Linked DNA regions of Homo sapiens: regions 2 and 3 are each linked to region 1. The links are contacts of gene promoters, found by promoter capture Hi-C in blood cells and fetal thymus (Javierre and others, 2016). All regions are on one chromosome and are shown on one strand. The core of a region is centred on a gene start or on the middle of the fragment in contact, and the rest is flanking DNA. Distances in the headings are between cores, read along the strand shown.

Region 1 (5,031 bases), core at 2,501-5,000:
GGTGTCAATATCTTTCTGTTGGAAAAAATCAGTGACTGGATGGATATTTATTTGTAAGGATCAATTTTGTGAATCAGGCTATAGAACTTCTAAGCCATGAATTTCAGCTCCATGGTTTACAAAAACTTCAATTTCCATTATCTTATTGATTTTCACAATAGCCCTATCAAATAGGATTATGTTATTATTCCCCATTTATGGATGGGAACATCGAGGTCCTGAAGGTTAAGTGACTTTTCCATAGGCAGTCAGATAATAAAGGCAGGACTGGACTCCAGTGTCAGTCTCCGGCTCCAGTTTTAGCACTCTCTCTCCTGTATTTCATTGTCTTTTTGTAAGTTTCTACAACCCCCAAGTATAGCTACTCTCTTGCATTTGAAAATAGTCACTCACTTTGCTGAGGGAAAGGACAAATGATGCTGGTTTCATAGGGTAATGTGTTGGTAAGGAATGGGTGGGGCCTAAGGAATCAAGAACATGGACATTTGTTGAACTGCTATTTTGTGTGAGGTGCTTTTATATATACCATCTCACAACAACCTTGAGGAGTTGAGATTATCTCCACTGTGCAGGTGAGAAAAGTAAGATTCAGAGGCATTACTTGCCTGTTATGTCATGTAATTCTCACCCTGAGAACAATTATGACCATTCCCTTTTTTCAGATAAGGAGTTTGAGCCTTTGGAATATGAACTGACTTGTCCAAGCAGTTCAATAGCAATAGGCAGGGCCAGAATTTGAACCTGGCCTCATCTAACTTCAAATCAACTTTGATGTGCAGAACTCCAATAGAAATGAAGAAAGACTTTTACATATGAAGCTTTTCATATTCCATTTATTTTGAATATGATTTTAGGATTTAGATAACCCTGGGGATTAAGAGTTTTTTCGGAATAAGATGTCGATTAAATGTAGAGTACTGTGCAATTGGTGTCCAAGGACTTGTAAGAGTGCTCAGTTGACAGAAGGTGAAAAAAAAAAAAAGTTAGTGCTTTTGGCTGCCAGACCTGGAAGCCTATGGAATGGCCCTGTTGGAAAGGGGATGGGCAGTGCTGACATCCACATCTGGAGTGGAAGAAGCACAAATCAGTGACAGGTCTGCACAATTTTCTGAATGTGAATACCACCAAGAGTAAAACAGACAGTTCGGCCATGGAGGACAAAATGCTGTGTGTAACTCAAATGAAAAGTCCATGATAATTGAGCCAATTTGAATTTAAAATAAAAAGTTTGGCTCAGCTATGTGGGTTTGGGAAGTGGCTACTTCATCTTCTAAATGAAAAATGTTCATCTGGCCTTTTTTCTTTCTTTCTTTTTTATTATACTTTAAGTTCTAGGGTACATGTGCACAATGTGCAGGTTTGTTACGTATGTATACATGTGCCATGTTGGTGTGCTGCACCCATTAACTTGTCATTTACATTAGGTATATCTCCTGACGCTATCCCTCCCCCATCCCCCCACCCCACGACAGGCCCCGGTGTGTGATGTTCCCCACCCTGTGTCCAAGTGTTCTCATTGTTCATTTCCCACCTGTGCAGTGTTTGGTTTTCTGTCCTTGCGATAGTTTGCTCAGAATGATGGTTTCCAGCTTCATCCATGTCCCTACAAAAGACATGAAGTCATCCTTTTTTATGGCTGCATAGTATTCTATGGTGTATATGTGCCACATTTTCTTAATCCAGTGTATCACTGATAGACATTTGGGTTGGTCCCAAGTCTTTGCTATGTGAATAATAGTCTTTGCTATGTGCCACAATAAACATACGTGTGCACGTGTCTTTATAGCAGCAAGATTTATAATACTTTGGGTATATACCCAGTAATGGGATGGCTGGTTCAAATGGTATTTCTAGTTCTAGATCCTTGAGGAATCGCCACACTGTCTTCCACAATGGTTGAACTAGTTTACAGTCCCACCAACAGTATAAAAGTGTTCCTATTTCTCCACATGCTCTCCAGCACCTGTTGTTTCCTGACTTTTTAATGATCGTCATTCTAACTGGTGTGAGATGGTATCTCATTGCGGTTTTGATTTGTATTTCTCTGATGGCCCATCTGGCCTTTTTTCTTTGGTAAGGCTGTGCCTTCATGGTGTTCAAAAATGGTTTCGCTACATCTACAAAGTGAGGCTTAATAAAAAGAGTTTTGAAAGAGATGGTCTATGTCTCTCCTATGCAAGCTCTGTATCGAAACTAGAGTAACTTATTTAGAGAACACTTTATCACACACACAGTGTTTTCATATAGAGACAGTCCCCAACTTATGATGGTTCAACTTTATGATTTTCCAACTTGAATCAGTGTATTACATGCATTTTAACCTACAATATTTTCAACTTACAATGTGTTTATCAGGATGTTGTTGCTCTATCACAAATTGAGAAGCATCTATGATCTCACTTAATGCTCATGAACACCCTATGATCCAGAAGACACGTAAGGGATATAGTCACCTTTTTGTGTTTCAGAGAAGTAAGGGTGAATACTCATCCAGGCTATGGAACAATGTATCATTTAAATATCACAAGTGCCCTGTGGGGAGGGCAACTTTACCTGCATTTAACATGAGTAAGCTAAACAGAGAGAGTACGCTGGTTTGTCTAAAGCCATGCACTCAGCAGAGCAAGGATTTCAACCTAAGTCATGAGGTTATTGAGTGGTGGCTAAGACCAGAACCCAAGCCTCTTCTGAATCTCTTGTGAAAATGACCTTATTGCTCATTTTCTCTATCTATCCCAAAGAGGATTGCCCAGGTGAAATTAGTTTTAAGTGAACTTCATGATGATCCCTGAAATGCAATGAAAATTCCAGGGATAACCTAAATGGTATGACAGGTAGGGGAGAGGTTCCAATCCATCTTTTATTCTAACATGCTGAGAGTTTTATACACACACAGTGTTCTCAAGTAACAGGGGGCTTAGCCAGATCGACTCCTTTCTCCATTGCCTCCTGCTATGTGTTAATAAAAGATGGGCCACTGCTGGCCTCAATTTACTGTTAGCCAATTGTTACTCGTAACAATCAAGTGGCAAACAGTCAAGAAGAAAGAGCACTGGGCTTGAGAATCCTGGGAAAACTCAGGTTAGAATCTTAGGATCAGGTCTAGAGCTTTAAGAAATACTCATTTTCCTTCCCCATCTTAATAGATGAGAAAGGCAAGGGCAAGAGAGGACGCAAGTATTGTCAAGGGCTTAGGAATGGCTTTGGAGTCAGAATGGGCTAGATCTGACTTTGGCCAACTCACTGAACCTCCCTGAGGTGCAGTGTCCACGTTTGTTGAATGGCGATAACATGTAATTCACAGGGCTGTTGTTCAAGGATTAAATGAGATAATAGATGGACAGCGCCTGGCAGAAGCAAGCGCCCAGAAGCTGGTGGGTGTTGTTATACAGCTGGACTGAAACCCACGTCTCTAGACTCCTGCCTTCTTGCCTCAGGAGAGGCACCACCGCAAGTACCTGCAGAAGCCTATCAAGCGCTGCAGCGGCCTCATGGGCCTGAACTGGAGTTTGAGACCAGCCATCTCTTCCTCACCCCTTGCGGTTAGAGGAGTCAAGAGAAACACCACGGGGCAAAGGGAAACGAAGGAGTTAAGGCGTTGAGCTTCAGAAAGCTCAGAAAACTAAAGCGACCCCCCACTCCTCCAAGCCAGGCTAAGTAAGCCCCTCCCCTCTACCACCGGGACGGTCGCCGCGCGCTCCCTCCCTCCGCCCCTTGCTTACAAGACCTAATGAGCTCCCCCGGGAGGCAGCGCAGCGAGCCAGGCCCGGAACTAGTAGGCTGCGCCGCGCGCGCCGCGCCGGGGCGGGAGCTGGGTCTGGGCGGCGGGCAGGAGCTGGCGGGGGCGCACGGGCAGCGCTGCGGACAGCCCGGGAGCCGCGGCGATGGCGGTGCAGGCGGCGCTCCTCAGCACGCACCCTTTCGTGCCCTTCGGCTTCGGGGGCTCCCCGGACGGGCTAGGGGGCGCCTTCGGAGCCCTGGACAAGGGCTGCTGTTTCGAGGACGATGAGACCGGGGCTCCGGCGGGTGCGCTGCTGTCGGGAGCCGAAGGAGGGGACGTGCGCGAGGCCACCCGCGATCTACTCAGCTTCATTGACTCGGCGTCCAGCAACATCAAGCTGGCGCTGGACAAGCCGGGCAAGTCGAAGCGGAAGGTGAACCACCGCAAGTACCTGCAGAAGCAGATCAAGCGCTGCAGCGGCCTCATGGGCGCCGCGCCCCCCGGCCCGCCCTCCCCGAGCGCCGCCGACACGCCAGCCAAACGGCCGCTGGCCGCCCCTAGCGCCCCGACAGTCGCGGCCCCGGCCCACGGCAAGGCTGCCCCCCGGCGGGAGGCGTCGCAGGCCGCCGCGGCCGCCAGCTTGCAAAGCCGAAGTCTGGCCGCGCTCTTCGACTCGCTGCGCCACGTCCCCGGGGGTGCCGAGCCGGCGGGGGGTGAGGTGGCTGCGCCGGCGGCCGGGCTAGGAGGTGCGGGCACTGGGGGCGCGGGAGGGGACGTGGCAGGCCCCGCGGGGGCCACGGCGATCCCAGGGGCCAGGAAGGTCCCGCTGCGGGCACGCAATCTGCCTCCGTCCTTCTTCACGGAGCCGTCCCGGGCAGGCGGCGGCGGGTGTGGCCCGTCGGGGCCGGACGTGAGCTTGGGCGACCTGGAGAAGGGCGCGGAGGCCGTGGAGTTCTTTGAGCTGCTGGGGCCCGACTACGGCGCCGGCACGGAGGCGGCAGTCTTGCTTGCCGCCGAGCCTCTCGACGTGTTCCCCGCCGGAGCCTCCGTACTGCGGGGACCCCCGGAGCTGGAGCCCGGCCTCTTTGAGCCGCCGCCGGCAGTGGTGGGAAACCTACTGTACCCCGAGCCCTGGAGCGTCCCGGGCTGCTCCCCGACCAAAAAGAGCCCCCTGACTGCCCCCCGCGGCGGCTTGACCTTGAACGAGCCCTTGAGCCCCCTGTACCCCGCCGCTGCGGATTCTCCCGGCGGGGAGGACGGGCGGGGCCATTTGGCCTCTTTCGCCCCCTTCTTTCCAGACTGCGCCCTGC
Region 2 (5,031 bases), core at 2,368-4,867, 560 kb before region 1:
ATTTGGTCCAGAGCTCTCTCTTTCTCAATGCCTCATTCACAGGCTTTAAAACACATCGAGATTCCTTCACATCACCTATTCCAAGAGAAAATGACTGACACATGTGAGTGGTCCAGGCTGCATTCTCTCTCCGTGAAGTCACCAGAGCTATAGTCGTAGTCCTGGGTGATCTCTGGTCATCTGATACAATTGTGCCCAAGCTGGGACCCCAGACCTCTAAACATCAGAGGAAAGAGTACTGGAGCAATGGGGTCCTCAAGAGGATTTGGACATATTAAAATGCCTCAAAAAATTGTATCATTGCTGGAGATGAAATTGGAAACCACTGAAGAAATTGGCAAGTATCTTCGCCTTCCCCTGTAAATTTATCAGCTTACTGTTAAATCAGCACTGCTTATCTCCCACTCACCAACAGTAACTTATCTTGAATTAATGGAAAATAGGAAAATAAGTAGTGGCTTCATACATGTTGTTGGTAAAGAGTGTAAGCTGTGTTTTAAATGGGAGCTTATAAAGGTAAAAAAAAAAAAGTGGTTATTTGCAATGAAAAAAACCAGGACCCACTTCCCTGCTACCCTGTTGGCCTTTGAGATTTAGATAAACTAGGCTGCTTTCAGCAGGGGAGCATTTCTCATGTCCAGGCCATCTCATCAGACATTGGAAGAGGAAAGGATTCATTTGCCTACACTAGCAAATGGCAAATAGTTATTTTCTAGAAAGAAATTCAAACTGATTTTTATCTATTTTAGCTCAAAAAATTTCAAAATCTCCTGCAAGTCCACTGTATGAAATTCAATTTCCTTAGTCTTTTTTATTCTACCTTTTTCATTTTGTTCACCCCAATTCCACCCAGTCTTCATATAATTCCTATGCCCCAGTCTACGAAGTTTCCTCACCAAACTATGACCATATTTTGAACATTCACTCATTCATTCAACACACACTTACCAAAAGCTTGTTATGGCCCAGGCATGATAAGCACTGGAGACACCATGACACATATGGTCTCTACCATAATGGAGAAAACAAATATTAAGTGCAGAGACATGGGAAGGCTGGGTTGCTGTATGAGTCCATAACAAAAGTACCAAATCTGCATGTTGTTTGAGTGGGAATGACTTCTTAAAGAGTTACTCTAAAAAGTCACCATTTAAACTGGAATCTGAAAGATATAAAGGAATTGGCCAGATAAAGAGGAGAAAGAGCTCCAAGTTGAGTAGTGATGCTTTACCATATGCAAAGTCCCTGAGTAGGAAGGAGCAAAGCGATGAGTAAATTGTACTTGCTCACTCCAATCCTCTCTCCTGGACCCCTTGCCTTACAACCTCTACTAACTAAAACCCCTAAGGTTCAAATCCTATCTCTTCTTGATAACCATTATCAAAAAGCATTTAACCTTCAACTGAATTATAGGATTTATTATTTTCTTAACATTTACATGACACTAACCTATTAAAGCTCTGTGTTGAAGGCTATTAAAATGCTTGTTCTATTCTCTCAGTTATTAATATATTACAAATTACTGGAGAGCAGAAATCTTTGCAATCCTTGCGTATCCTAGCAGAAATCCCTGCACGTAGTAAGAACTTGAATAGTTGTTGGATTGAACTGGTTTTCTTTACATTCCTCACATCTAACCTTAAACCTAGCTGGCACTCAGATATTTCTGTAAGTAAAACTGGAAAAATGAAAAATGTTTAAAAGTCCAGAGAAGAATAATATTGTGAAGGGTCCGAGATCTTACCCTATTAGCAGGCTATCAAGTTATCCTGTCATGGTTGCATGGATGCTGGTAGAAGATATGAGACTCCTTGCTAGAAACAAAGAACCCAATTACTGATGGTGCAGCGAGCAGCACGAGTATCGGCATATTTGTGTCAGCTCCCCTTGGCCCCAAGTTCATGGGGATGATGCAGCTGGGGCTACGTAGATGCCTGAGCACGTACAGTACATTGCATTACAGAGAGGAACCCTGACCTATGAGAACACAAATCTTTTATAATAGGCAGTAAGCATGAGGCCTTTTGCTCCAGAGAGAGATGCTATATTTCCTAAGGTTGTTCGTTATACAAAACTGCCACAACAAAAGGCAGAGAAGACCTCCATTTGTAAAACATACAGAAACATGAGACACCCATGGAAATTATTTCCTAACTCTGAGTAAGCAGGTATTATTATTGTTTATTGGGTGCTTGTATATGCCAGGTCCAGTGCTAAGTATTTTAGATGCATCATCTTTTCTATTCCTCTCAACAAACATGAGAAAACATTAACAAATTTATGGAAAAATATTTTTATAAATTAAGATGTTTAACAAAGAAACAATAGCAACCAAGGAGAATCTGAAAATACACAGGAGCATTAGGAGGTCTCAGAGAGGAGCTGTATCTATTAGCTGAATACTATCTGGACTCACTTCATCTGCTATTCCTGCTTTTCCTTCCTATGCTTCTCTGGCCTGCATGGTAGATTATGGATGACCCAAGCTCCTGCACTCACTTGATATAGTTCCAGCCAGCCTCAGAGAATGATTAAGAATCCCTGGATCTAATTGCCACTTCCATCAAAGAGAACATAATCAACACTGTATATGTGTGTTACAGAGAGAGCTTTATGTTAATATAAATAATAGTAACATGAATTAATATATAAAGAGATCCACTTTTTTCATAATAATTCCTTAAGTTAAGTAAAATATTGTGATAACACTTACTGGTCTGTATCTTCCACTAGCCTGTTAGCTCCTCCCAAGCAGGGATCCTATCATTTAACAGAATTATAATCATGTATATAATTATAATTATAATCCTGTATATAAGAATTATACAGAATTATAATTATGTATATACATGTATTAAGGATTTTCCTGTCACTAAGATTATTTTTAAAAATACTAAATTCTTGCATAATATTCCAAATTGGGACACTTCTGCAAGTTATTTAATCACTTTTGAATACTTAGACTATTTTCAATTTTTCACTACTATAAATAACATTGCAATAGTCATCCTTTTCAAAAATCTTAGCTACAGATGTGATTATTTACTATGGATAGCTTCTTAGAAGTGAAACTCTAGGCCAGGTGCGGTGGCTCACAGTTGCCTGTAATCCCAGCACTCTGAGAGACCGAGATGGGTGGATCACCTGAGGTCAGGAGTTCAAGACCAGCCTGACCAGCATGGCGAAACCCCACCTCTACTAAAAATACAAAAATTAGCTGGGTGTGGCAGCGCATGCCTGTAATCCCAGCTACTTGGGAGGCTGAGGCAGGAGAATTGCTTGAACCCGGGAGGCTGAGGTTGCAGTGAGCCAAGATCACACCGTTGCACTCCAGCCTGGGTGATAGAGCAAGACTCTGTCTCAAAAAAAAAAAAAAAAAAGAAGAAGTGAAACTCTGGCTATTTACTTTTTGGAGTTTCATAAATATATTACTAAATTGCTAAAGGCCAAAACTGGAAACACATTCCCCTTGAGAACTGGAACAAGAAAAGGATGCCCATTCTCACCACCCTTATTCAACATAGTACTGGAAGTCCCAGCCAGGGCAATCAGGCAAGAGAAATAAATAAAGATATTCAAATAGGAAGAGAGGAAGGTAAACTATCTCTCTTTGCCAACGATATGATTCTACACCTAGAAAACCCTAAAGACTCTCCCAAAGGCCCCTGGAACTGATAAACAAATTCAGTAAAGTTTCAGGATACACAATCAATGCACAAAAAATCAGTAGCATTTTTATACACCAATAATGTTCTAGCTGAGAATCAAATCAAGAACACAATCCCATTTACAATAGGCACAAAGAAAATGGAATACTCAGGATCATCTCACCAGGGAGGTGAAAGATCTCTGCAAGGAGAACTACAAAACACTACTGAAAGAAAGCAGAGACAACACAAATAAATGGAGAAATATTCCATGCTCATGGGTTGGAAGAATCAATACAGTTAAAATGGCCATACTATCCAAAACAAATTACAGATTTAACGCTATCCTTATCAAAATACCAACATCATTTTTCACAGAACTAGAAAAACCTCTTCTAAAATTAATTTGGAACCAAAAAAGAGCCTGAATAGTCAAAGCAATCTTAAGCAAAAAGAACAAAGCAAGACTTCAAACAATACTATAAGGCTAAACTAATCAAAACAGCATGGTAGTGTTACAAAAACAGACACATAGACCAGTAGAACAGAATAGAGAACCCAGAAATAAAGCCACACACCTAAAACCATCTGGTCTTCAACAAAATCAACAAAAATAAGCAACACGGATAGCATTCCCTATTCAGTAAATGGTGGTGGGATAACTGGCTAGCCATATGCAGAAGAATGAAACTGGACCCCCCTACCTCTCACCATATACAAAAATTACCACAAGCTGGATTAAAGATTTAAAAGTAAGCCCTCAAACTATAAAAACTCTAGAAAAAAAACTAGGAAATACCCTTCTTGACACAGGCTTTGGAAAAGAATTTATAGCTAAGTCCCCAACAGCAATTACAACAAAAATAAAAACTGACAAGTGGGACCTAATTAAAGAGCTTCTGCACAGCAAAAGAAATTACCAACAGAGTAAACAGATAGCCTAAGAATGGGAAGGAGAAAATATTTGCAAACTATGCATCTGACAAAGGTCTAACATCCAGAATCTATAAGGAATTTAAACAAACCAAGAAGTATAAAACAATCCAATTAAAAAATGAGCAAAGGACATGAACACACACTTCTCAAAAGAAGACATACAAATAGCCAACAAACATGAAAAAATCCTCAACACCACTGATCATTAGAGAAATGCAAATCAAAACTACAATGAGATGCCATCTCACACCCATCAGAATGGCAATTATTAAGAAAAAAAATTCACATATTGGTTAGGCTGTGAAGAAAAGGGAATGCTTATACTCTGTTGATGGGAATGCAAACTAGTTCAGCCACTATGGAAAGCAGTTTGGAGATTTCTCAAAGAACTTAAAATACAACTACCATTCAACCCAGCAATCCCACTACTGGGTATATACCCAAAGGA
Region 3 (5,031 bases), core at 913-3,412, 530 kb before region 1:
TTTCTTTTTATTGCTTATGTTCTTCCATAAAGATTTGAAAGAGGTTAGAGAAAAAAGATCAATAAATTAGATATAAGCCCATTAAAAACCTGGAGGAGGGACAGATGACCTTACCTTGAATCAACTGATTCAGCATAGACACTATCCCAAAATTAGATTATTTGTCACATACTGAGCTCCTCAAGTACCATCTGACCTGACCCAATTACAGGGCCCCAGTGATTTAGGAAGAATGCCCTAGTCAACTATTACTTGTCTTTTTTCTTTCCTTTTATAAAAAGTAATGTATTTTCATTATAAATTTTTTTTATAAGTTTTAGGGTCATGTGCACAATGTGCAGGTTAGTTACATATGTATACATGTGCCATGCTGGTGCGCTGCACCCAGTAACTCGTCATTTAGCATTAGGTATATCTCCCAATGCTATCCCTCCCCCCTCCCCCCACCCCACAACAGTCCCCAGAGCGTGATGTTCCCCTTCCTGTGTCCATGTGTTCTCATTGTTCAGTTCCCACCTATGAGTGAGAATATGCAGTGTTTGGTTTTTTGTTCTTGTGATAGTTTACTGAGAATGATGATTTCCAATTTCATCCATGTCCCTACAAAGGACATGAACTCATCATTTTTTATGGCTGCATAGTATTCCATGGTGTATATGTGCCACATTTTCTTAATCCAGTCTATCATTGTTGGCCATTTGGGTTGGTTCCAACAAAGATACTCCTCGAGAAGAGCAACTCCATAATTGTCAGATTCACCAAAGTTGAAATGAAGGAAAAAATGTTAAGGGCAGCCAGAGAAAAAGGTCGGGTTACCCTCAAAGGGAAGCCCGTCAGACTAACAGCAGATCTCTCAGCAGAAACTCTACAAAGCCAGAAGAGAGTGGGGGCCAATATTCAACATTCTTAAAGAAAAGAATTTTCAACCCAGAATTTCATTATAAATTATTCATAGAATTCAAAAGCCGAAAAAGTGAAAGCCCCTCCCCGTGTGTATTTACTATTAGTAGTAAACATTTTCTAGGCTTTTTCTTCTGTATATAAACATCTTATATACTTCTTAAAAATAATTAGATCACGTATTTTTTATAGTCTACAACTTTTTAAAGTTTAACCAAATGTCCTATTTCTTTCCACACAGACATCTTTTTATTAGAAAGCACAGTATTCCCTATATGAAAATGCCACAATTTATGTATCCAGTCCTTTATTAACAGGCATTCTCCCTTCAGTTTTTTATTATTAAGGACAATACTGTATTGAACAGCCATATATATGTGTTAACGTTTGAGTAAATACACATACACACACACATATCTTGGTGGCCCTGTGCTAGTATTTCTATATAACAACTTGCTATGTACATTTAAAATTTGGGGTCAAAAAGATATGCACATTTAAGATTTTTGATATTAACAAATTGCTGTCTAAAAGAAAACTGCCGATTTATACTCTTAGTCATTTTCTGGGCAGTCACTACTGATGTTGAGGTGCCAGCAGGGTTGAAGATGGAGCCCCCAGCCATCAGCTGAACCGTGGATGGGGCACAAGTAAAATAGCCTACCTACAAGCATAATTGGAATCAGAACTTACTCTTTAAATCTGTGACTGTGTGCCTCAATTTCTCATACCAGCTTTCTCCATAGGTTGGAAACATTACCACCTAGACTCTTATCATTCCACTTTCACTAATCAGGAGAGATTGCCCTCTTTCCTTAGTTCCAATTTTTAAAATCCTCAGAAAGGAGTCTGAATGGTTCATCGTGGGTCAGACGCCACCTTTTGACCCAGAACACTGCCACCAAGGAATAATGGCAATTTCCATTTAATCTATGTAGATAATGTGGCAGATTTTGTTCGTGGCAGATAAATAATGAAAGCTAATGTTTACAGAGTGCTTAAAATGTACCAGGCATATGCTCACCTAAGCATTTTACATATATGTAGAATGTCTCCCTAGACAGGGTATAGAGGATAAACAGCAAACTTAAAAGAAATTGGAGATGGCTCCAATTGTTGTTGTTACTGCAACAACAGCCATGAGAAATAAAAGCTGAAATAACAGCAGCAAGACATGAGAGAGAAACTTAAATGCAGTAACGATTGTATACTCTACTGAAGTAGAGTATACTTCACCTCACAATAAGTGTTCATTTGGTTATCTAAAACTTAATTTATCAGCTGTTGAATCAGCAGAGGATGTAACCACTTAGATAGCACTATGTGACTCAAATAAATGACAGATTGAGTCTTTCAAGTGTCACAGTATATAATAAGGATCACAAATTTTGTGTGTGTGTTTTTTTATTAAGAGAAAAAAAATGGCTTTGGAGTCAAGTACACTTAGTCTTAAATCCCGGCTCCACTGTTTGCTAGCGATGTAACTGGGTGTATTACCTCATCTGTACAATGGGGATAATACCACCAATCTCATGGTTAAATAAAGTAGTGTGTGTAATTGCTCAGCATAGTAGCATAGTACTTGACACACAGCAAATAGTAGCAGGATCAAATGGGAGAATATATAATTGCCCAGTGGCTGTAAGACAAGAAACTCTTAGTGTTATTACTTCTCTATATTTCTTAGAGATGCCTAATCCCATTTCTTAAAACTGAGAAAATGATCTTATCATTAACCAAGTTTCAGTAAGTAGTAGGATCAAATGGGGTGGTGTACAAATGGGTTTATACATTATGAATAACTTTACTTTGAAAGGCTAATTTCTTGTGTCTTTATTCATAAAAGTTTTCCATTCATCTCTCACTTGTCTGTTTTTAAAAATTCATTCATCGGTGTTTTAAACAAACTGGAGACTAGGGAGTCCCTAAAGGCCTCACTCAGACTTACCTTCTAAAAGCTGGGAAAACTGAATTTTTTTTTATCCAAAATGATGTAAGCTAAAGTACAGGTAGTATATTAACTATTTTAAAAACCTAATGCTTTTTCTGCCTTTTCTTCTACCTCATTGAGTTTAAAGAGTTTTTATTAAAATTTTATTAAGAATTATGAGAAATTATTTAAAAATGTACTGAAAAGGCAATTAAAATTCTCTTCTCACAGATATATGTATATTTTACTAGCCTAACTACGTAATTTTTTAATATAAGAAAGATTTCATTTATCATGAGATCTGAAATTAGAGCTTATAATTATTTAAAGTAGTCAATAATGCTAGCGTTAATGATTTTAAATACAGGTTATAGGTTTCTAAATGACATAATTTACATTTTAATATACAGGTGCTTTTAAGAAGAATTAGGCATTAAGGCTGCCCTTAAGAATGTCTTTCATACTTAATTGTCTAGGGAATAAAAAACATAGGATAGAAAATTGGTTGGATTTCCTGTTTTTTGCTCTTCACTTAAAGATAACATTATTCTCTTTATCTCTGCAAAATAATTACAGATACAAGACCTATAACACAGTTTCTTCTTTTCACAGCTTCGGTGTTTACTTGCCTGGCAATAGCATTGGGATTTTATAGATTCTGGAAGTAGTATTAATGCTCATCCTGCTGTGGCTGTTGGCTTCTTAGAACACCAAACCGGGAGAGATTTACTTTGAACATTGTCAGTTGCAGCAAAAATTTACTACACAAGATTATTCGAAGTGTATACGGACTAAAAGAGGAAGTGTTTTAGAATGAGAAGAGATACTGTGTCTTTATTGTGTGTGTGTGAGTGCAGGTGTGTGTCTTTATTATATTGAAAAGCTGTCACTCAGACCTGGTTTGAGATAGAAGAGCATTTTGTCCTTTTGATAGTTAATAGAAATTGAACCAGAGTTTTCTTATGTTTGCTTGAACAGTTGTGTAAATCATACAGGATTTTGTGGGTATTGGTTGAATATTTGTAAACCATTCCCTAGCCTACATATTTATTACTGAATTAACTTTCCTGATAACCATTGCATAATTACATTTTTCTATAAAATGAAAGATTATTACAACAAAGTTGTGTGGGTTTTCAAAGTGACTTACCATATAGTTGGAGATTGATTTCTTTTTGGTAATGAACTAAAACAATAAATTTTAAAATGATAGGCCAGGCGCGGTGGCTCACACCTGTAATCTCAGCACTTTGGGAGGCTGAGGCGGGTGGATCACTTGAGGTCAGGAGTTCTAGACCAGCCTGGCCAACATGGTGAAACCCCGTCTCTGCTAAAAATACAAAAATTAGCCAGGCATGGTGGCACATGCCTGTAATTCCAGCTACTCGGGAGGCTGAGGCAGGAGAATCTTGCAGTGAGCCGAGATAGCACCACTGCACTCCAGCCTGGGTGACAGAGCAAGACTCCATTACCTAAATAAATAAATGTGTGCTTTAGTGCAAATTACAACACTTAATATGAAATCTGTAGAGTTGCTAAATATTGAGCTCTGATTATTACATGTATTTTTTAAATATTTGATACTCAAAAACCAGTTTATCCCTGCTTCTTAATGTAGTTTAAGTTAACCCATCTTAAATTTATTACATAAAACAAAGCTTTTCTTAATGACTTCAATTCAGCAAACATTGATATCTAGTACCTACTCTCAAGAAACTCATAGGAAAATTTAAATTCGTATTTTGTTTTGTTATTAGATATATTTTTTCTTACAAAGTAATATCTATTAGTAAATCATATGTAATTTCAAAGAAATTTTAAAATATCCTTTTCATCTTAGTTCTTCAGTCTTACCCAGATCAAGAAGACAAGACCAGAAAGTAAACATTTTGAGTTCATAATGCCTTGGTAATAGCTATAAAAGTTTGACAATCATTATTCAAAATAGCCTTGTCATTTGTTTAGCTATAAACAGGGAATCTGCAGTATAGAGCAGTCAAGAGATTGGTCCATATGGTCCAGTGAGTGAGAGTCAGGCTTTCCAACTATATTTTCCTCAAAAATCTAACTGCTGGTTTGTTTTCAAAAGAAAAACCTTGACATTATCCTGTTACATTCTGATTCATTTTTATCTCTATTGCCTAAGAGAGTTCTTAGTATATTATAGATTAATTTTCACTGAGTCAATTAATAAGTTACCA

The links. The method cuts DNA at HindIII sites, captures the fragments that hold promoters and counts their contacts. A CHiCAGO score of 5 or more calls a contact.
Region 2: a contact is called between a fragment that was not itself captured here and the fragment with the promoter of FAM181B in region 1, in 2 of 17 cell types (naive CD4 T cells and activated CD4 T cells). The highest score is 5.7, in naive CD4 T cells.
Region 3: a contact is called between a fragment that was not itself captured here and the fragment with the promoter of FAM181B in region 1, in 4 of 17 cell types (naive CD4 T cells, naive CD8 T cells, total CD4 T cells and 1 more). The highest score is 10.9, in naive CD4 T cells.

What each region holds. Positions count from the first base shown.
Region 1 is chr11:82,732,583-82,737,613 of GRCh38, reverse strand. FAM181B (family with sequence similarity 181 member B) reads left to right here and starts at 3,750. Exons shown (of 1, transcript NM_175885.4): 1 at 3,750-5,031. The coding sequence starts at 3,885. The HindIII fragment of the contact is 9,040 bases long and covers 821-5,031 here.
Region 2 is chr11:83,288,069-83,293,099 of GRCh38, reverse strand. The region is part of intron 1 of CCDC90B-AS1 (CCDC90B antisense RNA 1); the gene reads right to left. Among named protein-coding and RNA genes, the nearest start is that of CCDC90B, 4.2 kb to the right of the region's middle. The HindIII fragment of the contact is 5,322 bases long and covers 957-5,031 here.
Region 3 is chr11:83,260,378-83,265,408 of GRCh38, reverse strand. It overlaps CCDC90B (coiled-coil domain containing 90B), which reads left to right. Exons shown (of 9, transcript NM_021825.5): 9 at 3,443-5,031. The coding sequence ends at 3,498. It also overlaps a transcript of ANKRD42 not described here. Among named protein-coding and RNA genes, the nearest start is that of CCDC90B-AS1, 23 kb to the left of the region's middle. The HindIII fragment of the contact is 4,657 bases long and covers 1-4,490 here.